7 separate regions of the Homo sapiens genome follow, and regions 2, 3, 4, 5, 6 and 7 are each linked to region 1. Evidence: promoter capture Hi-C in 16 types of primary human blood cells and fetal thymus (Javierre and others, 2016). All regions are on one chromosome and are shown on one strand. The core of a region is centred on a gene start or on the middle of the fragment in contact, and the rest is flanking DNA. Distances in the headings are between cores, read along the strand shown.

Evidence for each region. Contacts are between HindIII fragments. The CHiCAGO score rates a contact against its expected background, and 5 or more counts as called.
Region 2: a fragment that was not itself captured here is called in contact with the fragment with the promoter of EFCAB12 in region 1 in 1 of 17 cell types (M2 macrophages); the score reaches 5.0 in M2 macrophages.
Region 3: a contact is called between a fragment that was not itself captured here and the fragment with the promoter of EFCAB12 in region 1, in 4 of 17 cell types (M2 macrophages, M0 macrophages, M1 macrophages and 1 more). The highest score is 10.2, in M2 macrophages.
Region 4: a fragment that was not itself captured here is called in contact with the fragment with the promoter of EFCAB12 in region 1 in 1 of 17 cell types (M2 macrophages); the score reaches 5.1 in M2 macrophages.
Region 5: a contact is called between a fragment that was not itself captured here and the fragment with the promoter of EFCAB12 in region 1, in 1 of 17 cell types (M2 macrophages). The highest score is 5.3, in M2 macrophages.
Region 6: a contact is called between the fragment with the promoter of RAB43 here and the fragment with the promoter of EFCAB12 in region 1, in 2 of 17 cell types (naive B cells and total B cells). The highest score is 7.4, in naive B cells.
Region 7: a fragment that was not itself captured here is called in contact with the fragment with the promoter of EFCAB12 in region 1 in 1 of 17 cell types (M2 macrophages); the score reaches 6.4 in M2 macrophages.

What each region holds. Positions count from the first base shown.
Region 1 is chr3:129,426,844-129,430,294 of GRCh38, forward strand. EFCAB12 (EF-hand calcium binding domain 12) reads right to left here and starts at 1,793. Exons shown (of 9, transcript NM_207307.3): 1 at 1,597-1,793. The coding sequence starts at 1,645. RefSeq lists a silencer at 1,930-1,979. The HindIII fragment of the contact is 3,479 bases long and covers 1,124-3,451 here.
Region 2 is chr3:129,899,737-129,903,187 of GRCh38, forward strand. TMCC1-DT (TMCC1 divergent transcript) reads left to right here. Exons shown (of 3, transcript NR_037893.1): 2 at 1,971-2,124. Among named protein-coding and RNA genes, the nearest start is that of TMCC1-DT, 7.6 kb to the left of the region's middle. The HindIII fragment of the contact is 6,418 bases long and covers 1-3,451 here.
Region 3 is chr3:129,792,174-129,795,624 of GRCh38, forward strand. The region is part of intron 4 of TMCC1 (transmembrane and coiled-coil domain family 1); the gene reads right to left. Among named protein-coding and RNA genes, the nearest start is that of TMCC1, 100 kb to the right of the region's middle. RefSeq lists an enhancer at 2,130-3,329. The HindIII fragment of the contact is 693 bases long and covers 1,292-1,984 here.
Region 4 is chr3:129,767,371-129,770,821 of GRCh38, forward strand. The region is part of intron 4 of TMCC1 (transmembrane and coiled-coil domain family 1); the gene reads right to left. Among named protein-coding and RNA genes, the nearest start is that of TMCC1, 120 kb to the right of the region's middle. The HindIII fragment of the contact is 249 bases long and covers 1,518-1,766 here.
Region 5 is chr3:129,751,334-129,754,784 of GRCh38, forward strand. The region is part of intron 4 of TMCC1 (transmembrane and coiled-coil domain family 1); the gene reads right to left. Among named protein-coding and RNA genes, the nearest start is that of TMCC1, 140 kb to the right of the region's middle. The HindIII fragment of the contact is 921 bases long and covers 1,095-2,015 here.
Region 6 is chr3:129,120,051-129,123,501 of GRCh38, forward strand. It overlaps RAB43 (RAB43, member RAS oncogene family), which reads right to left and starts at 1,754. Exons shown (of 3, transcript NM_198490.3): 1 at 1,236-1,754. The coding sequence starts at 1,439. The region is part of intron 11 of ISY1-RAB43 (ISY1-RAB43 readthrough); the gene reads right to left. RefSeq lists an enhancer at 1-783 and silencers at 1,564-1,743, 1,764-1,983. The HindIII fragment of the contact is 2,447 bases long and covers 567-3,013 here.
Region 7 is chr3:129,685,697-129,689,147 of GRCh38, forward strand. The region is part of intron 4 of TMCC1 (transmembrane and coiled-coil domain family 1); the gene reads right to left. Among named protein-coding and RNA genes, the nearest start is that of PLXND1, 81 kb to the left of the region's middle. The HindIII fragment of the contact is 1,484 bases long and covers 1,072-2,555 here.

The sequences.
Region 1 (3,451 bases), core at 543-3,042:
CCTTTTTTTTTTTTTTTTTTTTGAGATGGTGTCTTGCTCTGTCACCCAGGCTGGAGTGCAATGGCATGATCTTGGCTCACTGCAAGCTCCACCTCCCTGGTTCATGCCATTCTCCTGCCTCAGCCTCCTGAGTAGCTGTGACTACAGGCGCCTGCCACCATGCCCGGCTAATTTTTTGTATTTTTAGTAGAGACGGGGTTTCATTGTGTTAGCCAGGATGGTCTTGATCTCCTGACCTCGTGATCCACCCACCTCAGCCTCCTAAAGTGCTGGGATTACAGGCGTGAGCCACCCCACCAGGCCTGGCTAACTTTAAAAAACAATTTTGTAGAGATGGGATCTCACTATGTTGCCCAGGCTATTCTCAAACTCCTGGGCTCAAGCAATCCTCCTGCCTCAGCTTCCCATAGTGCTGGGATTACAGGCGTGAGATACTGTGCCCAGCTACTGACAAGGATCTTAAACTCAACCAACCAAGACTGGATTTGTCTTTGTGCCCCTTCCCCCACTAACTGGGTCCTCTGAGTACGTTCTCTTATCTCTGTGGAAGACATCTCCATCTACCAGGTCCCCCAGCTGCCAACTTGAGAACCATCTTTATTTGCCTCTTCTGTGTTTCCTGACCAACCAGCCCCCAAGTCCCGTAGTTCCCTCTAGCCTGGGCCTTCTCCCTCACCTCCCAGCATCTTTAGCTTGGGCATTTGACCAGAGCCCTGACCTGTGTGCCTGGGAAAGGTGGCCAGCCTCTCCAGCTCTCCCTGTTTCTCCACTGGGCATTAATGTGTTCAGTGCTGGAGAAGCGGCATGGAGAAGACCTTCAGTCTTCAAGCTTTATAGCCCCCAGCTCTCATCTCCCCACACCAACATTCTGAGTCTGCCAACTCAGTCTCAGGTCTTTTCTGACTGCTCCCAATCCAGTCCTGCCACTCCCAGTGGCCTCTCCATCTCCTGGCTTGCAGTATCTTTTATGATCTTGTCCCTTCTGACCTCTCTCACCTCATTTCCAGAGACACCAGACCTCTTGGGTCATGCTGTTTCCTTGCCCGAAATGCTTTTCCTTCCCCTTTTGGCTTGGAGAACTCCTTTTTATCCTTTAAGCTCCAGTGTAAAGATCTTTTCCAAAAGCTTGGAACTGTTCCTCCCCATCCCATACCCTCAGCACACCTTTTACTCCTGGGTGTCATCCCTGGGCCCGGCATTTACCCCTTCTTATTCTGTAATTATCCATTTATCTCTGTCCTTTACCCGTGAAGCTGCATTGCTTTGCCAAGAACTTGGTCCCCAGCACATTACTGCCAAAACCTTGAAGACTGACGTCTTCTCCATGCCTCTCCTCCAGTACTGAATACATTAATGTCCTGCAGAGAAACAGGGCGAGCTGGAGGGCTCCCGTCACATGGGTCGGGCCTCTGGTTCCTCCAACTAGGCTCAGATAGAAATCTCAGAAATGTACATGACCTGCCCCCGACTCCATGGCAACCCTTCACCCAGAGGGGGTCGGCACAATATCTGTGGCTGAGTTTTTGCCCTCACCCCACTTTCACGCGTCCTTAGGGCGCTGAGCGCTCCCTGCAGACGCTTCTTCCCGGGGCTTACCGAGCAGCGACAAGAACAGACTGTGGTACGCTTCATAGTCGTCGTCCATGGTCGTGGTGCTGGGAGGGGGTGCTGAAGGGCGTGTGTGAATGTGTGTCGATGTGGGCTTGCTTGCGTAGGGGTACCGGGGTATCAGATAAACCGTAACTCCAAGTCGTGCGAAAGGCGCTCAGCTCAGACTGCAGAAGCAACCTGTTGCCGTGGCTACGGACGCCCCGCGCCAATTGGCTGAGCGCTGTCACGTGTTAAGAGCGAGCCCGCCCTGCCGAGCGCCTGCTGGCCCCACCTCGTTTTCGTCCAATTCTGGGAGGGGCAGCGAGCAAATCCACGCCCCGCCCAGTTCTGGGCTTGGTGAAAGGCGGGATTTCTTTGTTCGGCCCAGTAGTCCCTGAATCCAGTGTAGAAAGTCTCCGGTTTTCCCGTGAAATGTGGGATCTTCCGCAGGTCTCCATATCTCTAGGCCTCAGTTTTCTCATAGGAAAAATAGGCCCTGCCTCCTCCAGAGGGTTAGGAAGAACCAAAGTGAGCTGTGGCCAGATAGAGGTGTTGGGTATGTTCTGCCCCGCTTATGGCAGGGTGCCATGGTTTGGAGTTACAGAACCTGAGGACCAGAGAATAATAATAAACCCTTGAAATGTGCATCAACTGATAAGCAAAATGAGGTATATCCATAGGATGGCCATAAGAAGGAATGAAGTACATGCTACAATATGGATAAACCTTCAAAACAGTATGCTAAGCAAGAAGCTAGACACAAAAGGCCACGTGCTGTATGATTCCATTTATGTGAAATGTTCAGCATAGACGAACCCACAGACACGGAAAGTAGATGAATGGTTGCTAGGGGATGGGGTGAGTAATTGAAGTGACTGCTAACAGGTGGAGAGATTCTTTTTGGAGTGGAAAAAAGAAATGGAAACTTCTGGAATTAGTGATGATGGCTGCACACTGTAAATGTACTAAACCACTGAACTGTACACTTTAAAATGGTTAAATGGTGGCTTTTAGCTCAATTTTTAAAAAGTTAAAGAGAAACACCTAAGCCCTTATTCCTTTGCTGAGACAAGCTATCTTTGTGACGCTTGCAAACAGATTGTTGCCATGGGCCACATTCACACAGCACTCTTGCAAGCCAGGTACCATTTTAGCACTACATGTCTGAACTTCATAATTACCATCATTGTGTGAGGTAGACACCACTATCCCATTTTTAAAAGACAAGTTAACAGGTACAGAGGTCAGGCAACCTCACCTGCAAGAAACAGGAAAAGCCAGGCCTAGAGCCTGAGCAACCTGGCTGTGTCCTGAGCTCCCCTGGTGCAGAGCTCGCCTCCTGCATTCACACGGGCCCACACTCCCCATGGAGATGCTGGGGGAAGGTATGTGACCACCAGCCCTACCACAAAGCCACACCTGATGCCCTGAGCTTGGTGAGCTCGCCCCACCCTCCAGGCCCAGCTGGGCCCAAGGTTTCAGAGGCCCCTCTCCACCCTCTTTGGGTGTCTTGTCCCTACTCCTTACCGCTTTTGTTCCCTTCCATTATTAGGTGCCCTTCTTTCTCTCTGTGAGGGTCTGTACAGAACTTGTTTATCTTTGTGCCCCTCCCCACCACAGGGCTTTACACTTTGTGAATGCTACTTGGATGTTTGTTAAATGAAAATGTGATGGTAAACTATAAAGTGGGTTTGCCTTGGGGAGAGGGAGGTGTGGCCAGTTTTCCTGTTCTCTGGTCAAAATCTATCCTTCTAAAAACTGACACTCACTAAAGTGGAAACAACCAACTACCTCTGCATCACACTGCAGCCTGATTCGGTTCACACTGCCCTACAACAAAGGCAGTTTCCTGAACAACTGA
Region 2 (3,451 bases), core at 341-2,840, 470 kb after region 1:
TCCCATTTACATAACATTCTAGAAAAATGCTAGCTAATCTATAGTGACAGCAAACCAATGGTTGCCTGGGACCAGATGTGGAGGGAGAAATGTGAGAAAAAGGGGCACAAAGAAACTTCTGGGGATGATAACAGTGGTCTGCATGTTTTTTTATTGGTTTGTTTGCAACAGGGTCTCACTCTGTTGCTCAGGCTGGAGTGTGGTGGCACTATCACAGCTCACTGCAGCCTCAACCTCCCAGGTTCAAGCAATCCTCCCACCTCAGCCTCCTATGTAGCTAGAATTACAGGCATGCGCCACCACGTCCAACTAATTTTTAAATTTCTTGTGTTGGGTCTTGCCGTGTTGCCCAGGCTGGTCTTGAACTACTCCTGGGCTCAAGTGATCCTCCCTCCTCAGCCTTCCAAAGTGCTGGAATTACAGACATTAGGCACCACAAGAATGATCTGCATCTTGGTTATGGTTGTGGTTGTATGGGTGTATACATAACTTAAAACTCATCAAACTGTACATTTTAAATAGGTACAGTTGATTGTATGAATAGATATACAGCATACCCTACTAAAGTTGTTATTAAAAAAATCATTAGATGAGATTTAGAGCAGATTAGAAGCAGCAAAATAGTGGATTTATGAATGGGAAAACAGGCAGCAGTAAGTATTCAGATGAAAGTACAGAAAGAAAAGAAAGGAAAGAAAACTCAGAAAAGAGCATTAGAGAGAAAGGAGGCACAGTGATAGGTACTGCTGCAAAACTATAATGTGGGAGAAATGCTGCTGTGCTGTTGCTGAAAACATTATATAAGGCTGGGTGTGGTGGCTCATGCCTGTAATCCTAGCACTTTGGGAGGCTGAGGCAGGCAGATCACCTGAGGTCAGGAGTTCAAGACCAGACTGGCCAACCTGGCGAAACCCCGTCTCTACTAAAAGTACAAAAATTAGCTGGGTGTGGTGGTGCGCACCTATAATCCCACCTACTGGGGAGGCTGAGGCAGGAGAATCACTCGAACCCAGAGGGTGGAGATTGCAGTGAGCCAAGATCATGCCACTGCACTCCAGCCTGGGCGAAAGAGTGAAACTCTGTCTCAAAAAAAAAAAAAAAAAAAAAAATATATATATATATATATATATATATATATAAATAATTCTGGTTTTGGTGAGGCAATGTCTAGCATTCAGGCACTTAACCAATTAATATTAAGAGTATAGAAATCAGGGCCAGGTGCAGTGGCTCACGCCTGTAATCCCAGCACTTTGGGAGGCTGCGGTGGGTGGATCACGAGGTCAGAAGTTCAAGACAAGCCTGGCCAAGATGGTGAAACCCTGTCTCTACTAAAAACTACAAAAATTAGCTGGGCTCTGTGGTAGGCACCTGTGATCCCAGCTACCTGGGAGGCTGAGGCAGGAGAATCGCTTGAACCTGGGCAGCAGAGGTTGCAGTGAGCTGAGATCATGCCACTGCACTCCAGCCTGGGCAAAAGAGTGAGACTCTGTCTCAAAAAAAAAAAAAAAAAAAAAAAGGATAGTGTTGGGAACAGGCCCCCAAATCTGGCCATAAACAAAATTTCTGCAGCACTGTGACATGTTTGTGATGGCTATGACACCCACGCTGAAGGTTGTGGGTTTACCATAATGAGGGCAAGGAGCACCTGGCCCACCCAGGGCGGAAAACCGCTTAAAGGCATTCCTGAACCACAAACAATAGCATGAGCGATCTGTGTCTTAAGGACATGTTCCTGCTGCAGATAACTAGCCAGAGCCCATCCCTTTGTTTCAGCCCATCCCTTTGTTTCCCATAAGGAATACTTTCAGTTAATCTATAATCTATAGAAACAATGCTTATCACTGGCTTGCTGTCAATAAATATGTGGGTAAAACTGTTCAGGGCTTTCAGCTCTGAAGGCTGTCAGCTCCCTGATTTCCCACTCCACACTCTATATTTCTGTGTGTGTGTGTCTTTAATTCCTCTAGTGCCACTGGGTTAGGGTCTCCACAACCGAGCTGGTCTCAGCAAGTGGTGTCCATACATGGGGCTCGAACCTGGGTTGAAGGGTCGCCAGAGCGACGGTTGGAGAACGTGGAACTAAGCTGGAGGACACCTGAGTACTCTTAAGCAATCCCCGTGGTGAGTAAGAAGGGGAGCTCGGAAGCATCAGGGTATCAATGGGACAAGTGTGGGCTCTGGTTCATTCCACCTTGGAACCTTTTCACCCTAATGATGAGGAGGAAGGAAAGTATAATGAACTAACAGAAGACATGACAGAGCAGGTTTGTTTGCCAGCTAAAGCTAAAGCGGCAAAGGAGGAAGAGGTTCCTCCCTACCCTTCTGCACCCCCTCATTATTTTGAAGAAAAAGAGTAGCCTGACCCTCCAGATCTTTCTTTTCCAGAGGACACTGGGTGAAAAGTAGTTGCCCCAGTGACCGAGCAGTGCCTCGAGTGACCGCTCTCAGTTCTATTCAAGCAGGAATCCAGCAAGCTAGAAGAGAGGGTGATTTAGAGGTTTGGCAGTCCCTGTTGGAATACACCCCCCAGATCAACAGGGAAATATTATAGCTACATTTGAGCCTTTTCCTTTTAAATTACTCAAAGAATTTAAACAAGCTATTAATCAGTATGGACAAGGTTATCCTTTTGTAATGGGACTGTTAAAGAATGTTCCTGTCTCCAGTCAGATGTTGCCAGTGGGGCTTATAGGATTACTTCTAGGTAGATCTAGTTTAAATTTAAAAGGACTGCAAGTATATACAGGAGTCATTGATTCAGATTACAATGGGGAAATTCAAATTGTTTTATCTACTTCTGTTGCCTGGAAAGCAGAGCCAGGAGAGCGCATAGCACAGCTCCTGATTGTGCCATATGTGGAAATGGGGAAAAGTGAAATTAAACGAACAGGAGGATTTGGAAGCACAAATAAACAAGGTGAAGCAGCTTATTGGGTGAATCAAATTACTGATAAATGTCCTACCTGTGAAATAACTATTCAGGGAAAGAAATTTAAAGGTTTGGTAGATACAGGAGCAGACATTTCAGTTATTTCTCTACAGCACTGGTCATCCTCCTGGCCAATTCAACTCGCTCAATTTAACATAGTTGGAGTTGGTAAAGCCCCTGAAGTATATCAAAGTAGTTATATTTTGCACTGTGAAGGGCCCGATGGACAACCTGGGACTATTCAACCAATTGTAACTTCTGTACCTATAAATTTATGGAGGAGAGATTTATTACAACAATGGGGAGCACAAGTTCTAATTCCAGAACAATTATATAGCCCTCAAAGTCAACATATGATGCATGGAATGGGGTATGTCCCTGGTATGGGACTAGGAAAAAATTTGCAATGTTTGAAGGAACCACTTCAAGCAGGAAGACAAAGTTCCCACCAAGGTTTAGGGTATCATTTTTGATCGTGGCCATTGTTAAGCCTCCAGAACCTATACCTTTAAAATGGTT
Region 3 (3,451 bases), core at 388-2,887, 370 kb after region 1:
GTATATATATATATACATATATATATATACACATATATATATCTATGAAAAAACGATTTCATTTTGAGTGTTCAATATGTGCCAGAAATACCATAAACTGGGGTATGGCAGGTCCCTGGCTCTCAGGTAACCTATGGATTTAGCTGAAAAGACAAATAGAGGCACGATGCATTTGCTGATATATTTTTTTTTAAGACGGAGTCTCGCTCTGTCACCCAGGCTGGAGTGCAGTGGCATGATCTCAGCTCACTGCAGCCTCTGCCTCCTGGGTTCAAGCGATTCTCCTGCGTCGTCAGCCTCCCAAGTAGCTGGGACCACAGGCACGCACCACCATGCCCGGTTTATTTTTATATTTTTAGTAGAGATGAGGTTTCACTATGTTGGCCACGCTGATCCATTTGCTGAGTTTGTTTTTTAAACTCACTAACATAACTATTCGGTTTCTCCTTCATATTTAAGTGCCTTACAGACTGAAATAATTAAAAATATTTTTTCAGTTCATTACTCTGATAGAACAGTAAATCTGATAGACAACAAATTTCCTTAGCTTTGGTCTAGATCATCCATTATAGGATCCATAAATCACATTCAAATGAGCAATAAGGGTACCAGGAAAAGGAATGAAAAAAGGCTACATCTTTGAGTGTTTTTATGTAATGTACCTAAAGAGAGGATGCATCCCATTCCTTCAAAAGTGTACTTTTTGTAAATCAGTCATATACATAGTATAGAGTGAAGAGGGTAAAGTTTAAAAAATAATTGGGAGAGAAGTACTGGCAGCAAAATACCCATAATATAGTTACCTTCTAATTAGAAAATTATCACCTGGCTCTCAACTATCAGACACTCTTGTGCAGGAACGTCACTGCCCTGATATCTACCCATCTGCTTTTTAAATGTACTATATATATGAAAATACAAGCACTGGAGGACATTGAAAGAGCAACAAAAATGATTCTTTTTATTGTGTAAGAGAAATGTGGAGGCCTTCAAACACACACACACACACACACACACCATGGAGCAGGGGGGAAGGGAGCAAGTTAAATATATTTTAATACTCCTAAAAATCCCGTTAGGCTTAGAAGTCCCAAGAAAAACTATGCATATGTGACACAGGGATGGAAGCAAGCACTTTGCTCATTTCTGCATCAGTGCACACACTCTACACTGGGGTCACCTGTGAGGGAACTAAAGGTTTTCCCTTAAGATCACAATACATTTCAGGATCTAACAATTCTGATTAACAGCCAAGGCAGTGAAGAATGCCTACAGACTTACTATTTGTTTAAGCTTCTGTATTCAGGGAATGAACTGTGACACAACTGAGCCACCAACTGCTACATTTTTTAAATGGAGCTTTTAAAGAACACAATGGGTTTTGAAATAAAGCTCAACTCTTACCACACCTCTTTCCATATTAGTTTCTGCACTAAATGACTGGGTCAAGGAGGGCTGGCTACAGGCAGAGTGGATTTCATAAATCACCATCCCCTCTTAAATGCGTGCTTCACCTTTTTACTATTTTAAGTATGATTTTCTCAGGTTAAAAAAACTTTTCCCCAAAAGCTGCACACATGGAACCTGCTTTTCATCAGAACTCTGTAAAAACTGCTTTGTGAGCCTCTCTGTAACTGCTTTTCATATACTTCATTAAGTATTCAAGTTTCTCAACACAACCACTCATTTTAACATTTTAATGCCAGTCTTGCTCATTAAACTATTTTGTGGTAGTTTTTCTCAGTTTAATAGTGAAATGTATGAAAGCACTGATTCCACAGAGAAGAAGGCTTTCTCCTCTTGGTCCACAAGCTGACAGATTAATTGCTTATTAAATATACACTTTCAACCCACAATTATCTCTTTCACACACACCCTTCTGGAAATTCTATCTCAGGAGCAAACTACAACTTTGCCCAAATTCAGATGACAGCTGCAGTTTTAGGGGAACACAATCTGGGGCTGCCAGTGCAGTCAGCCTTCAAGCTTTGTGCCTGTCAGATAAAAGAACAAAAGGCAGTGCTTCCTCCCTCAGCCCCTCCTTAGCGCTGGAGGACGGCAGGCTTGACAGAACAGTTCCAGAGAAAAAGGAACCATGCTGAAGCAAGTGAGAGTTTCCCCTCCACAAACATAGAAAACTACCAACCCACCTTGGATAGCTGCCTCCTGAGGCTAAAGCGCTGAACCATGATCACCCAGAGGATCTTCAGACAAAGCAATCCACGAAGGGTTTTTTAAATAACAGCTTCTTGGGAAAGTCGGTGGCAGAACATTTTGAAGACTGCCAGAGAAGTGCAAAGAATTTCCCTGGGAGTCTTAGCAAACTTGGAAAGCCTTCATTGTTCTATCAAGAGATACTGGAAAACCTACGTGGGAGAGGGCAGGGTGGGTGGGGCAGTAATCCTGAAGCCGCTGTGCCCAGTGCCAAGCTCTTCTAGCACTTCCTGTGAGTCAGCTGTGAGGGGTCCAAACACAAGGACCACCCCTTCCCTTTCCACCAGACCAGTAGGCGAGGATGCCGCTGTGGTGCTACCTGAAACTCCAGAGGACAGACCTGATGTTCCGGTCTCTGTGGGAGGAGGAGTGGTGTGCTGGGGTCAGACAGCATCTGCTCCAAGTAGGAGACAGGCAACTGCACCAATTCCTCCCCTCTTCAGCCGTCCCAGCAGCAGAGAGTGTCCACTGCAGACAGCAACGCACCCTTCTCTACCTCCACCTTAGGTAATCCTTTAAGGTGAGGCAGTGTGAAAAAAAAGGAGGTGGTGAAAAGCAAGCCCCTGGCTGTACCAGCTCCCTGCTCAAGAAGGAAACTCCTCCCAGCTGGGCTCGGCAGCTGTGCGGCTTTGTCTAGCATAATTGGCCAAGCCTTTCCTCTTATTCACAGGGAGGGGTCCTGCCTCAGGAAGGAATGTCAGGTGCAGAGAGGCATACTCCGACGGTGACTTCAACTTGTGCCAAAGTTAAACACATTAAAGTGGCCTCCTGAGGTAATTGCCCTCTCTTGTTGGAATGAAGTAATTTTTTAAAATCTACACACAAAACAAAAGGAACAGCTCAGAGTGAATCAATGCAGGTAAAGAGGTATGAAAAATAACTGTAAGAGCAGTTCCAAAGATAAAAATATTCCTATCTTTGCCACTCTTCCTCTGTTTGGGTCTGCTTCCAGACAACCACTGTGAGGATAACGTTTCATTTAATGAAACTTTCCAGTCTATGTGCTCCTCTTGGAATTGTTCATTACTTCTGAATGAATTTAGTACTGTTTAGGGCAGAACTCATTCGTATATTTTTTTTCCCTGTTCCAGTGTCTCTCAATTTCCTGTGAGCAAAGTTATGTCATATGCTACATTTAAAGCCTTTGTTGGAATGAACCTACTATGTGCAGTCACTATGTTAGGCAGTTCACATTTATTATCCTATTGATTTATCAAAACAACCTTATAAAATTTGT
Region 4 (3,451 bases), core at 392-2,891, 340 kb after region 1:
TCAATTTTTTTTTTTTAAATTGGAGACGGTATTGCTCTGTTGCCCAGGTTGGAGTGCAGTAGTGCAGTGATAGCTTGCTGCAGTTTTGAACTCCAGGGTTCAAGCAAAGCTCTTGCCTCACCCTCTTGAGTAGCTAGGACTACAGGTGCACATCACCACACTTTGCTAATTTTTAAATTTTTTTGTAGAGACAGGATCTTTCTATACTGCCCAGGCTACGGTTAATTTTAGAATATTTACATCCCCTCAAAGAAACCTTTTGATCCTTGGCAATCATCCTCTTATTCCTCCATTCCCCTGGCCCTAAACAACCAATAATCTACTTTCTGTCTCTCTAGATTTGCCTATTCTGGATATTTCATGAAAATGTAATTTTACAATATGTGACTTTCTGTGTCTGGATTCTTTCACTTATGTTTTTAAAGTTCATCCTTGTTATAGCATGTATCGGTACTTCATTTGAATGCTTTACTAAAGGGAAACATTCTTTTGCAAAGTAAATAATCACCCCCAACTTAAAAAATAAATACATATTTCAGGCCAGGCCCAGAGGCTCACGCCTGTAATCTTAGCACTTTGGAAGGTTGAGGCCAGAGGATCACCTGAGCCCAGGAGTTTGAGACCAGCCTGGTCAACATGGTGAAACCTCATCTCTACAAAAAAATGCAAATAGCTGGGCATGGTGGTATGCATCTGTAGTCTCAGTTACTTGCAAGGCTGAGGTGGGAGGATTGCCTGAGCCCGGGAGGTGGAGGCTGCAGTGAGCCATGACTGCACCACTGTATGACTGCACCACTGTACTCCAGCATGAGTGACAGAGCAATATCGTCTCAACAAACAAACAAAAAACATATTTCAGTTTGCTTTCGGTATGTTATAATAGATGCCAGGACATAGGTATCCCTCACAATCGAGTATGAAGATGTTTCATTACAAAATAAAATTTAAGGAGTCCCTAAATCCAAACAACTTCTGAAAATCATTTTTTAAATGCCCATATATTTAGAAATAAAGATCTTAATATGTCTGCAAGTTTATACAAAAACAAGTTTAGTGAGAAGTACCTAGTGAGAACTGATTTAAGCAACTAGATCTAAGGTATCCTGTTTTCATTTATTGTAAGTCCCACTGATTAGATTCTGTTTGTTCCCCTCTCTATTGTCCTCTGCCCTGAGAAACTTAAACCATCCATTCTTTTTCTCATGAATACAGTTTGAGCACTAAATTGCAAAGAAAAACATGGATCTGGTTTAGGACTGTGCACATAGTCCCGAATGAAATACATCCCACAAGAGAAAATGAGGATAAAATATAACACTGCTATTTATTTAATTCAAAGTATATGTATTCTTATATTTAGAAGAGCCAGACAGGCACAGTTTCTTCATCTGTAAAATAAAGGTGGATTATGTAATCTTCAAGGTCTCCTCTGTCTCTAGAAACTATGATTTTTCTATTTAATCCTTTTGAAAACAGACAAAAAGAGCTGTAGTATGACCTCCCTAAGGCTAAACAGAAGCTTGTCAACAATGACTAGGGTTAGGCTCCTGATTTATCCCTGCACTCACTGGAGATAGGCAGATAAATCAGCCTCAACCCTGACCTCACAGAGTTCACAATATCGTAAGGGAAGAAAGTGAGGGGTAAAGAACTTGACAGCATACTTTAGATACAGAGCCAGGAGAAGGTAAGGGAGTAACAGGAACTTTATAATTTCTTCTTTCAAGCCCTTCACACCTCCCTGCCAAATCTGATCATCTAAAGCAAGCTTGTCCAACCCATTGCCAGCGGGCCGCACGTGGCCCAGGATGGCTTTGAATGCAGCCAAACACAAATTCATAAAGTTTCTTAAAACATTATAGGATTTTGTTTGTTTTGAGACGGAGTCTCGCTCTGTCACCCAGACTGGAGTGCAGTGGTGCGAACTCGGCTCACTGCAACCTCTGCCTCTCGGGTTCAAGCGATTCTCATGCCTCGGCCTCCTGAATAGCTGGGATTACAGGGGCACGACACCACACCTGGCTAATTTTTGTATTTTTAGTAGAGACGGGGTTTCACCATGTTGGCCAGGCTGGTCTCGAACTCATGACCTCAGGTGATCTGCCTGCCTCAGCCTCCTAAAGTGCTGGGATTACAAGCGTGAGCCCCTGCGCCCAGCCCATTATGAGATTTTTTTTTTTTTTTTTGCAATTTTTTTTCAAGCTCATTAGCTATCGTTAGTGTATTTTATATGTGGCCCAAGACAATTCTTCTTCTTCCAATGTGGTGTAGGGAAGTCAAAAGATTGGACACCCCTAATCTAAAGCAAATCCACATTAGACCCCATCCACTTAATGTTCTTACACTAACATCTGGAAATAACATAAAACTTGTATGTTTTACATTTCTACTTTTGGCCTGGGGTAAAAATGAACCAAGAATAATTAAACCACACTCCTCAGGGGACATAAGCTATACTGATTTAAAGAGCGAAACGGCAAAAGTACTTTTTAAATGCTCTTCAGTATTAATCAGAAGCCCTACTTGGACCAAAAGCAACGGAGAAGAATTTGTCTACCCTTTCCTTTAGCAATTAAAGATATTTCTATAAAGTGATGATTACCAAAGGATTATTTCAGCCACCATACTGTTAACTCATTTTGTCACGTGTCACAAATTCAAATGGCCTACCTTGCATTTCTGAAGCAAAATTGAACTTTTGTTTCTTATATGTTATTAAAGGAGAACACTGTCCTTGGGAAGCAACTCTAAGGTTGATAACTATCTGGGGCTTCAAGGGATCTTGTATTTATCTCAGGTCCAATTAAAGAGCAAAAAAATTCTAACTATACGTATTTATTGAGGCATTAAGAAAAAATGTTTCAGCTGGATGCAGTGGCTCACACCTGTAATCCCAGCACTTTGGGAGGCTGAGGCAGGAGGATCACTTCAGGCCAGGAGCTGGAGAGCAGCCTGGCCAACATAGTGAGACCCCATCTCTACCAAAAATACAAAAATTAGCTGGGCATGGTGTTGCACACCTGTAGTCCCAGTTACTCAGGAGGCTGAGATAGGAAGATTGCTTGAGCCCAGGAGGTAGAGGTTGCAGTCCCAGTTACTCAGGAGTCTGAGACAGGAGGATTGCTTGAGCCTAGGAGGCGGAGGCTGCAGTGAGCTGTGATCACACCACTGTACTCCAGCCTGGGTGACAGAGCAAGACCCTGTCTTAAGATAAAATAAAATAAAATAAAATAAATGAAATGAAATGAAATGAAATGAAATGAAATAAAATAAAATAAAATAAAATAGATAAAATGATTAGCACTTGGAAGACTACAAAAACACTCCTAAACCATAGATTTTAATTCTAAAACATCATCCATTTAGAGAATCTGGAGAGTGTGGAAATTTCCTCATACCCATAGGATGCATAATCTGACTTTGGATTCAGGGATACTGCACAAATTTACAT
Region 5 (3,451 bases), core at 305-2,804, 320 kb after region 1:
AGCCTGGGCAACATAGTAAGACCTCATCTCTAAAAAAAATTTAAAAATTAGCTGGGCATGGTGGCAAGTGCCTCTAGTCCCAGCTACTTGGGAGGCTGAGATGGGAGGATCCCTTGAGCCCAGGAGTTTGAGGCTGCAGTGAGCCATGATTGCACCACTGCACTCCAGCCTTTCTGACAGAGCAAGACCCTGTCTCTTCAAACCAACCAACCAACCCTAAACACAATAGTATCTTTTTTTCCCCTCCGAGACAGAGTCTTGCTCTGTCACCCAGGCTGGAGTGCAGTGGTGCAATCTTGGCTCCTGCAACCTCCGGCCCTGTGTTCAAGTGATTGTCCTGCCTCAGCCTCCTGAGTAGCTGGGATTACAGGTGCATGCCACTACGCCCAGCTAATTTTTGTATTTTTAGGAGACACAGGGTTTCACCATGTTGGCCAGGCTGGTCTCAAACTCCTGACCTCATAATCCGCTCACCTCAGCCTCCCAAAGTGCTGGGATTATGGGTGTGAGCCACCATGCCCAGCACACTATAATATCTTTTCTATCTTCAACATTCATACTGAATTATCTGTAGGACTTCAAGCTGCCTATCTTCTATTTACTGTTAGGATGGTGAGGCCTTAGAACCCCTTGTTCCTGGAACCTAATTGCTTTAAATGTATGGGATGGGTTAGAAGATATTTATTTAATTTATGCATAATCTAAAAGTTTGCACTAACTTAGATAGAAGTGAATGCTTATACTATGAAAGGACCACCTTAATCCTGACCTCCCAACACAGCAATCCTCTATTACCCAGCTGTCAGCATAAACTTACAACAGTTCTCTAGGTAGCATTCTGGAAGGAGAAATGGCATCAGCAGAATGTTTTCCCTCACTCTCTGAATGAGCGAGCTGTGACCTTATCTCTTCCCTTTATGGATCTGGGTTAAACCTATCACTCATGATATTAACATCCATATATTCACTAGAACGGAATTTTTGATGATTGATTACATGTATCCCTGCAGGGGATTTTAAAAAAACCAAAATCTAAATAGTCATCATCAGAATCAAAACCAGAACTATACTCACCCTGGGAGGTCATTCTTTAAAGCTTCTATTCTGGATTAAATATATCCCAATTCCCCAGCCACTTGAAAATGACTAATGAATGATCAAAAGGTATATTAAATAATCTAATTTAGCCAGGTGTGGTGGTGGGCACCTGTAATCCCAGCTACTAGGGAGGCTGAGGCAGAAGAATCGCTTGAACCTGGGAGGCAGAGGTTGCAGTGAGCCAAGATCACGCCACTGCACTCTAGCCTTGGTGACAGAGCAAGACTGTCACACACACACACACACACACAAAAACTAATACATTAAAACAGTAAGTACCAAATGTCTAAATGATAAAAAAAATCAATTTCAAAGAATAAGGCACCTGTATTAGCCCGTTCTCACACTGCTATAAAGACACACCTGAGACTCAGTAATTTACGAAGAAAAGAGGTTTAAATTGACTCACAGTTCTGCAGGCTGTACAGGAAGCATGGCTGGGGAGGCCTTAGAAAACTTACAATCATGGCAGAACACAAAAGGGGAAGCAGGCACATCTTCACATGGCCAGCGGGAGAGAGACAGAAAGAGAGAAGGGGGAGGTGCCACACACTTTGAAACAACTGGATCTCATGAGAACTCTATTATGAAAACAGCAAAGGGAAAGTCTGCCCCCTTGATTCAGTCACCTCCTACTAGGCCCTTCCTCCAACTCTGGGAATGTGACATGAGATTTAGGTGGGGACACAGAGCCAAACCACATCAGGATCTAAAACACACATATAAAATAAGTAGCCAAATATATGTCTGAATAGAGAATCATCTCACATTTTTTGTCCAATGTTTACCTAAAAATGTACAATTTTCCAAATGACTCAGATTTTTATCTGAAGTCCTAACTTTATATATATCCAATCTTCCAGAGTATGAAATGTGGAAAAAGAGTGAATTTTAGGAAGGCAGTAATAAAGAAATCAAGCTTTCCAAAGCAGATGTTTTTCACACTCGACATCGTAATATTCAGCAAGTTAATTATGTATTGTTTTTCCTTTTAAAAAGCAATACATAAATGCAAAAAGTCATTAGCAAATCAAATTTAGCAATATATAAAACGGATAATTAATACATCACAACCAAGTGGGATTCATCCTAGGAATGCTAGACTAGTTACACATGTGAAAATCAGTGTATTTTACCATATCAAAAGTCTAAATAAATTTTTTAAAAACCAGATGTTATATCAATAGATGCAGAGAAAGTTTTTACTAAAATGAAACATTCATTCATGATAAAGACTCTCAAAGTAAGAATAGAAGGAAACTTCCTTAAACTAACGAAGGGTATCTATGAAAAACCTATAGCTGACATCACATTTAATGGTGAGAGAATGAATGCTTTCCCTTGAGATCTGGAACAAAGTAAGGATATATTTTCTCACAAGCCCTATTTAACAACACGAAGTACTAACTGGTGCAATAAGGCAGGAAAAATAAATAGAAAGCATACAGATGACAAAGAAAGAAATAAAACTCTATTCATAAGTAATATAACTGTCTAGAAAATGCTAAGAATCTACAAAAAAAAAAAAATCCCCCAAACAAAAGACCCACTAACAAAAAAACTCAACCTTCTTGAACTAAAAAATAAGTTGCTTCAGTAAGGTCACAGGACACAAGGTCAATATACAAAAGTCAATGGTATTCCTATGTACCAGCAATGAGCAACTGAAATCCCAAATTAAAAAGCAATACCATTTATCACAGCCCCCTCCCATTAAAGGAGCACTTAGCTATAAACGTGACAAAATATATGCAGGATCTGTATGTGAAAAACTACAAAACACTGATAAAAGAAACCAAAGAAGAGTCAAATAAATGGAAAGGGACACCATGTCATTTACTGGAAGACTCAATATTGCTAAGACTCAATTCTCCCCAGTTTGATCAACATAATCCCAATCAAAATGCTAGCCAGGTCTTTTTATACATATATAAAGTTATTCTAAAATTTACATGAAAAGACAAGGAATTAGAATAGACAAACCATTCTGGAAAAGAAGAACAAAATTAGGGGAGTCATATGACCTGATTTTAAGACTTACTACAACAATCAATACAGGGTAATACCGGAGGAAGGATACGGTCCACAGATCAATGGAATACAATAGAGAGTCTTAAAAAAGACCTTCACAAATATAGCCAACTGCATTTTTACAAAGGTGCAAAGGTAATTCAATGGAGAAAAGATAGTCTTTTAAGCAAATGGTGATGGAAAATTTGTATGTCAATATGTATCCCTGCCAAAAAGGAATCTCAGCATATTTACATCTTATTACAACTTATACAAAATAATTAATTTAAAATAGCCCATAAGCCTAAACATTAAATGCAACATTATAAAAAATCTTTTAAAA
Region 6 (3,451 bases), core at 504-3,003, 310 kb before region 1:
CGGAGACCAAAACACAGACCCCAGAAGACGATTAAAATATAATAATAATAAAACCCCTCAGGCAGGAGTTTCTGCTTCCCCGTCACATCTACTGAGAGGCACTGTGGACACATAAAGACTGTTGACTTACTTTTTTCTCCACCTTGGGGCAGGAGGGAGGCAACACCCAGAAATTATCCCAATTTTATAGAAACAAAGACAAAGAGCTACATATCCTAGCCAAAGGCAACAAGGAGCAGGCCTAGAGCCACCCGGAGAGGCAGAGCCCAGCAGCAGCAAGGCTCCAGTGACTCCCATCTCCCTGGCAGAGATCGTCCCAGCCCTGTGCCCTGAGGGTGTCCTGAAGATCATGGGGGCTCGAAACCATGAAAGCAAGCAAAGATTTCTGTACAGTGCGGTTCAGAAAAGTTACTGAGTGCCTTCAGCCCAGGATCTCCTGGTTGATTAGGGAGTACTAACACCTAGGTTAAGAAACTCTGATTTCATTCATCACAAATATTTATCAAACCACTGCCAGGACATTGTGGCAACCACATCCTGCTGTTTTTATTCGGAGCCATTGCCAAAGCTTGGTTCTCTCCCCCACCTTCCGGTATCTGTGAAGTTTTCAGTTTCTATCAAACTCCAGCTGGGGGAGGGAACCGGGGCTGGCCCTAGTCGAGTAAAGTTCCACCACCAGGTCCACAAAGAGACTGCAGGGAGGCGTGGCCAGGCCGGAAATTCTGACAAAAAGTTTTGGCCCTCTGGTCCTAAAAGCAACTACTTCCTGATCGCTCCTAGTCCTGGGGTGGGGATGCAGTTCTCTGGCTGAGTGCCCCGCCGGTGGGCTGAGCTGGGGGCTGCCATCGCGGTGGATGGAGGTGGGGGGTCTGATCTCCGCACTCCAAGGCGCTCCGCTAGTACCTGGAACAGGGGAGTCTAACCCCCTGCCTTCCAATGGCTAAAGTTATTTTGGAGCACAGTCCCCTCCTAGGGTGTGAGCTCCGGAGGGCAGGGCCGCCTCCTCCACACTCCCTCGCCCCCCCCCCCCCCAGCAACCCACGGCCGGCGCTTTGAGGACTTGAACCCGGCCCAGACCCCGGGGCCCAGGCCTGCTCCGACCCGAGGAAGGAAAAAGGGGAAGCCAAAGGAAACTTCAGATGGACGCGGGGTGCGCTCGCCGCGGCCAGGGGCTCCGCTGCCCCCGCCCCACCCTCCGAGGGAGCGCCTTCCAGGGGCCCTGGCCGGCCTCCCACCTTGACCCGCTTGCCCTGGATCTCCAGCGTCTTCATGGTGAAGTCGACGCCGATGGTGCTTCCCTGGCGCTCCGAGAAGGCGCCGGTCTTGAAGCGCTGCACCACGCACGTCTTGCCCACGCTTGCGTCGCCCACCAGCACCAGCTTGAACAGGAAATCGTACTGCTCGTCCGGGTCCCCCGGGCCTGGGCCCGGCCCTGCCATGGCCTAGAAGAAGCCGAAGGGCCGGCGCTCTGGACGCTGGGACCGGCCTGAGCTCACGCAAGCCGCGGGCCGAGCTCCGCCCGCTCCAGCCCACGGGCCGCCTGGCTACGTGGAGCCGCCGCAACACCTGAACCCCCAGCACTGCCGACCGCCTGCCTCGGCCTCGGCCCCGCCCCACCCCGGCTGGCTCCCGCCCCGGCCCGGCTCGGCCCCGCCCGGACCCGGTGCCCCGCGGGTTCGGCTCCCCCCCGGACCCGCCAAGCCGGGCCCTCCGCAAAGCTCCGGCCGGTCCTCAGCTCCGTGCCACACCAGTCTGGCCTGTAGGCCCGCCCCAGCCCGCCCCCGCCCGCCCCCGGCTCCGCCCTCAGGCTGGCACCCACTCCGCCCCCAGCCCAACCCTCGGGCCCACCTCAGCCCGACCCGGGTTCCGCCTACGTCCCCGCCCCCGACTCCGCCCTCAGCTCCGACCTCGACTCCGCCCCCAGGCCCACCTCAGCGCGCCCCGACTCCGACCCGACTCTGCCCTCAGCCCGACCTCGACTCCGCCCACAGGACCACCTCAGCCCGCCCCGACTCCGCCCTCAGCCCGAACTCGACTCCGTCCCCAGCTCCGACCTCGACTCTGCCTTCAGGCCCACCTCAGCCCTCCCCGACTCCGCCTTCAGCCCGACCTCGACTCCGCCCTCAGGCCCACCTCAGCACACCGCCCCGACTCCGCCCACAGGCCCACCTCAGCCCGCCCCGACTCCGCCCTCAGGCTCACCTCAGCTCTGACTCCGCCCCACCCGACTCCGCCCTCAGCCCCGACCCCAGCCCGACCCCGCCCTCAGCACCTCGGCCCCTCCTCCATCAACACCCCGGCGCGCCCACACCGCGGATCCGTCTGGCCCCCAAACCGCTGCCCACCCCGACCCTTCATCAGCTGGGACCCCCAGGTGCTGTCCCGCGCCTCCTGCTCGCCCCCCACCCAGGCCTGGTCCGCCTGCCCGGGATCCCCTACCTGCTGCCTCCCAGACCGCCGGTCAGGGACAGGCGGAGACCATGGCTGGAGCTCCGGGCCTGCAGGCCTAGACTAAGAATGACCCCCTCCGGAATGGATCACGGAGGAAGGGGACGACCACAGCAGTGTCACCTGAGTGCCCACTCTGACAGGCGGGCAGTGCAGTCTCCGAGAGTGGTGGGGGTCGCTCTTCCCAGGGGCGGAAGGGAAGGGAGGGAGCAGGCTGCAGAAGGCCAGAATCCAGGCTGGCTACAAAACTGCGGAGGAGCCCAAAATCCTTGTGAGGAGAGGACCCAGGGCCCCATTTGATGGGAAGCTAGGCCAGAAGGAGGAGCTGGGAGCTCTTGTCTCCAAAAGGCAGCCTAGCAGTGGTTGAAGCAGCTGCTAAACGGCTGGATGACCCAGCTCAGAGCAGCTACAGGCCCATTTGGGAAACTGACCCAGCCAAAAAGCACCAGTCTAGGAAGAGGAACAGAAAAACTTGAAGGGATTTCTGAGGAAGGGCAGACCAACTCCTGAGTTGGCCCAGTGAACCAGGGCGCCTCAGAGAAAGGAGACCCAAACATCTGTAAGAAGCTTATACTAGATCCAACAGGACTGGGCTTCCCAGCTCCGAAGATGGGAAGGAATTGACAGCACCCCTTACCCCTCTAGACAGCTTCCTTGTGGCACTCCAATTCCAGGTATTCAACATATTTAATGAATGGCTACTACAGGCGGGCATTGTCCTGGGGCCTTGTAATGCACCTGTGGACAAAGCAGACAAAAATCCAGGAGAAAAGGGGAAAGTCTTCAAGCTGAAGGAGACTTCGCAGAGAGCAAGTCCCCCAGTGCCACTGTGAGGACCCCAGCCAACCTTTCAGGTCAAGATAGAAAGGGACTGAATGAGCAGTCTGCAAAGGCAGACCCCGTGGAGAAGGCAGAAGAGTTGTTTCTTCTGAAAGTTTGAACTCCACTCCCATGGGAAATACCCAACAGAATCAGACAGGAAACCCCAAAGTGCCACTGAAAA
Region 7 (3,451 bases), core at 564-3,063, 260 kb after region 1:
AAGGTTTCCCAATGATAAGAGCAGTACGATCTCCTTTGGGATTTAGACTTATAGAGCCAAAAGGCTACTTGACTATATCAAAATCTACATGTCCAAAACCAAACATCATAATCCTCTTCTAAATCAGATCTTCTTACACTGTTCCATATCTCAGGAAAAGCATCTGTCTATCAAGCTACACAAGCCAAAACCAAACCAAATCAAAGCCTAGGAGCCATTCTTGACATCTTCTGCCTTCTACCTATATCCGATCCAACAATAAGGCCAATCAATTTTACTTTCCAAATTTCCATCATAATACACAACACTCTCCATCTACCTCTACTGCTACCACCTTATGATGAACTCTTATCATCTCTCTCCTGGACCACTCATCCTGATTGATCTACCTGCATTCACGTAGGTTCTCATTTAAGCTGAAGAAATTATTTTTTTTAAAAGGCCTAAATCACTCAATACTTAAATTCTTTTAGTAGCTTCCTACAATTTTAGAATAAACAAGAATCTGAACAGTCTATAAAGTCCTATGTGGTTAGGCCCTGGATCTACCTCTCTAGATACAAATACAAAATATTTGCATTTTTTAGTAGAGATGGGGTTTCTCCATGTTGGTCAGGCTGGTCTCGAACTCCCAATCTCAGGTGATTCGCCCGCCTCGGCCTCCCAAAGTGCTGGGATTACAGGTGTGAGCCACCATGCCTGACCTAGATCTTCATTTTACAGTATGTTTCCTTTCCCACGTACCCCACTCTAGTCACACTGGCCTTGTTTCAGTGCCCAGTGCTTATCCTATTTTTTCTCACCATAGTGCATTTGCAATATTGCCTACTTAGCTGCCTTTCTTCAACTCTCAGCCTGCCATTTTGCTAAATGCTGGGTATGTAATGATGAACAAACAGTGTCTGCTTTCAGGAGGTTTATGGCTGAGTGGGGAAAAGTGGTAGAGAGAGAAAAACCAGTAACCAAACAATATAAATTGTGTAAAGTGCTACAAAGAAAAAGAACAGAATATTATGAGAAAAGGAATAGTGTAAGGGAGGAAAATCTATTTTAGTCTGGGAGGTCACAGAAAGCTTCTTTTAACAAGAACACATTTGAACTGAGTCCTCAAAGATAGAAAAGGAGATTGCTACTTTAATCAGGCCATAAATGAGGAAAAGCACTATTACAGTAGGTTTCACATGCCAAGAAAATAGAGAATTTGGAATTTTATCATAATTGAGATGAAAACAGAGTTAAAGAAAGTAGCAATTCAAAAAGAGAAAAATAAAAAGGATTTATCTATTCACTGCTTCTTAGAATTGACTTGGTTGAAAGGTTTTGATCATCTTACCAAAAAGGCTTACGGAAGGAACAGAAGGATGCTGAGAGGAAAAGGTCAGTAAACAGGGAGGAGGGCACCTGCCAGTAACCTAATGGAGTATATGGAGAGTTGTATTTACAAGGCTTACATAACCAATGAGTCAGCAAAAAGTCAGGTGTCAATGGATCTCTTCTGTGGCCACTCTAAGCAGCTAGGAAACTTGGCTCTCCGAGATAGGAATATACCTTCCAGTAACACCTGCCTAAGTTAGGATGAGGAAAAGTAAACTTTAATGTTTAGAAAAAAAACATAAGAAATAAGATCCAACTTAAAGCAAGGTGATTCTGGTAGGATTTTGCAAATCTAATGCAACTCATTTCTCTAATTTGTAATAAAACACTTATTAAAGAATCCAGAAGCAAGACTCCAAAATCTGCTAAAAGTAAAACATACATTTTAAAGAGAAAAACAACATCCTTATCTTTTTTGAGGTCCATAAATATTGGAGGGCTACTCTCTACAACTATTTTTTCTCTAATAACGGCTAATATGTATAAACAGTAACAGAAAAAGGCTTCATATCAATAGAATTGAGTCTGGCAAAGAAAATATACAAAAGAGAACATAAAAGAGATTCAGTCATAGTAGAGGCAAAGAGATACAGCATTCACAACCACTTGATATCAAACAGCAATGACAATGAACCCAAGACAAATACCCACCAACGCACAGCTATGAAAATAGCAGACTCCTTATCCTGCCTTCCTCCACCTCCATACTTATGTTCTCAGCCTATTACTGTTCCAGTGGCAACAACTCTATAACAGGAGGAAGGCTTTATTTTTCCTTCTCCCGCTTCAGACTATAGAAAAAGCAGGGAAAAAAAAGCATAATTATGACTATTCAAAGAAAAGAAAAGAGGTTTGTTAGTCTGCATTCTTTGCTCTGGAAATTTCTGGCTTCTGTCTGTTGAGAGACACATGAGAAAACTTGGATTATCTCTGAAGGTCACAACTGAATGACCACAAGTTATGTTTCTCCTTCTGGTTCCCTTGGTCATCCTTTTCCATCAAACATGATTTTGCAAAATGTTTTAGTTATTGCTAAGAAGCAATTCCATACAGCTGATATAGAAAAGTCAAAAAATAAGAAAAAAATCACAACACATTTATCTTACCAAAACCCCCTGTCAGGCAGTCTGCTGATTTTGCTTGCCACAAAGCTCATCCTTCATTTGTGCACTGCCAGAGAAAGCTTGGATGGTAAAAAAAAAAAAATCACAACCTCTCTTGGCTATAAGCTCTTTCCATTTGTTCCAGCTTCCAAACTGCAGAGGAGCTGTGGCATAGTCTGTCACTGCTGCACATACTTGGTTTCCGAGAATAACGCTGCAAATGAGGACAGCTACCACTGGGAATGCTTTCCCCCACCAAAGAGCCGCAGTGAAGCTTCTAGTGGATCCCTGGGCTTCTCACCTTCACAGTCTCAGAGAAGTGACTTTCACAAAACAGGCAGGTACAGCCGCACCACATTAATACCCTCGCATAGCCAATCCTCCGCAGTGCCCACCTCAGCCTATGTATAGTTTCAATTCTATCTCCTGTAGCAACTCTTAGAGCTTTCTATATCTGGGAGCCTAGGAGAACTCTGTGCTGAATAAACAGAAAGCTTCTGCCAAACAAGCATCCGTGTGTGTGCGCGCGCACGCAGTTTGCTAGAGCAGCTAATGCAAATGAATAGTTTGACTCTGAGAATGGAGATCACAGACAGTATCTGCCTCTCTTCTCCAGCTGTGAGCATCTTTTATAAAAGACAAAAGCACCACACTGGTTGGATTTAAAGCTACAGGGTATTAATTCAACATTCACATTTGTCTTCTCATTTAAATCAGATAAGGTTGAAAGAATCGCTTAAAGAAGATTAAAAACATTCTAAATAAAATAACACTGTTTAGGTAGCTTGGTTCAATAAATACAAAGAAAAAGCAATCTACCTATGTTTCAATAAAGGCCCAGAAGACTGCCAGAACAGATTTCCATGCTTTTGTAATGTTTCTTCTCTTATTTTTCATTTTAGGTTGGCAAAATCATTTAAAATGAAAATAGAACATGAGTGAGAGAACAACTAGAAAAAGAAAACTGAGCACGA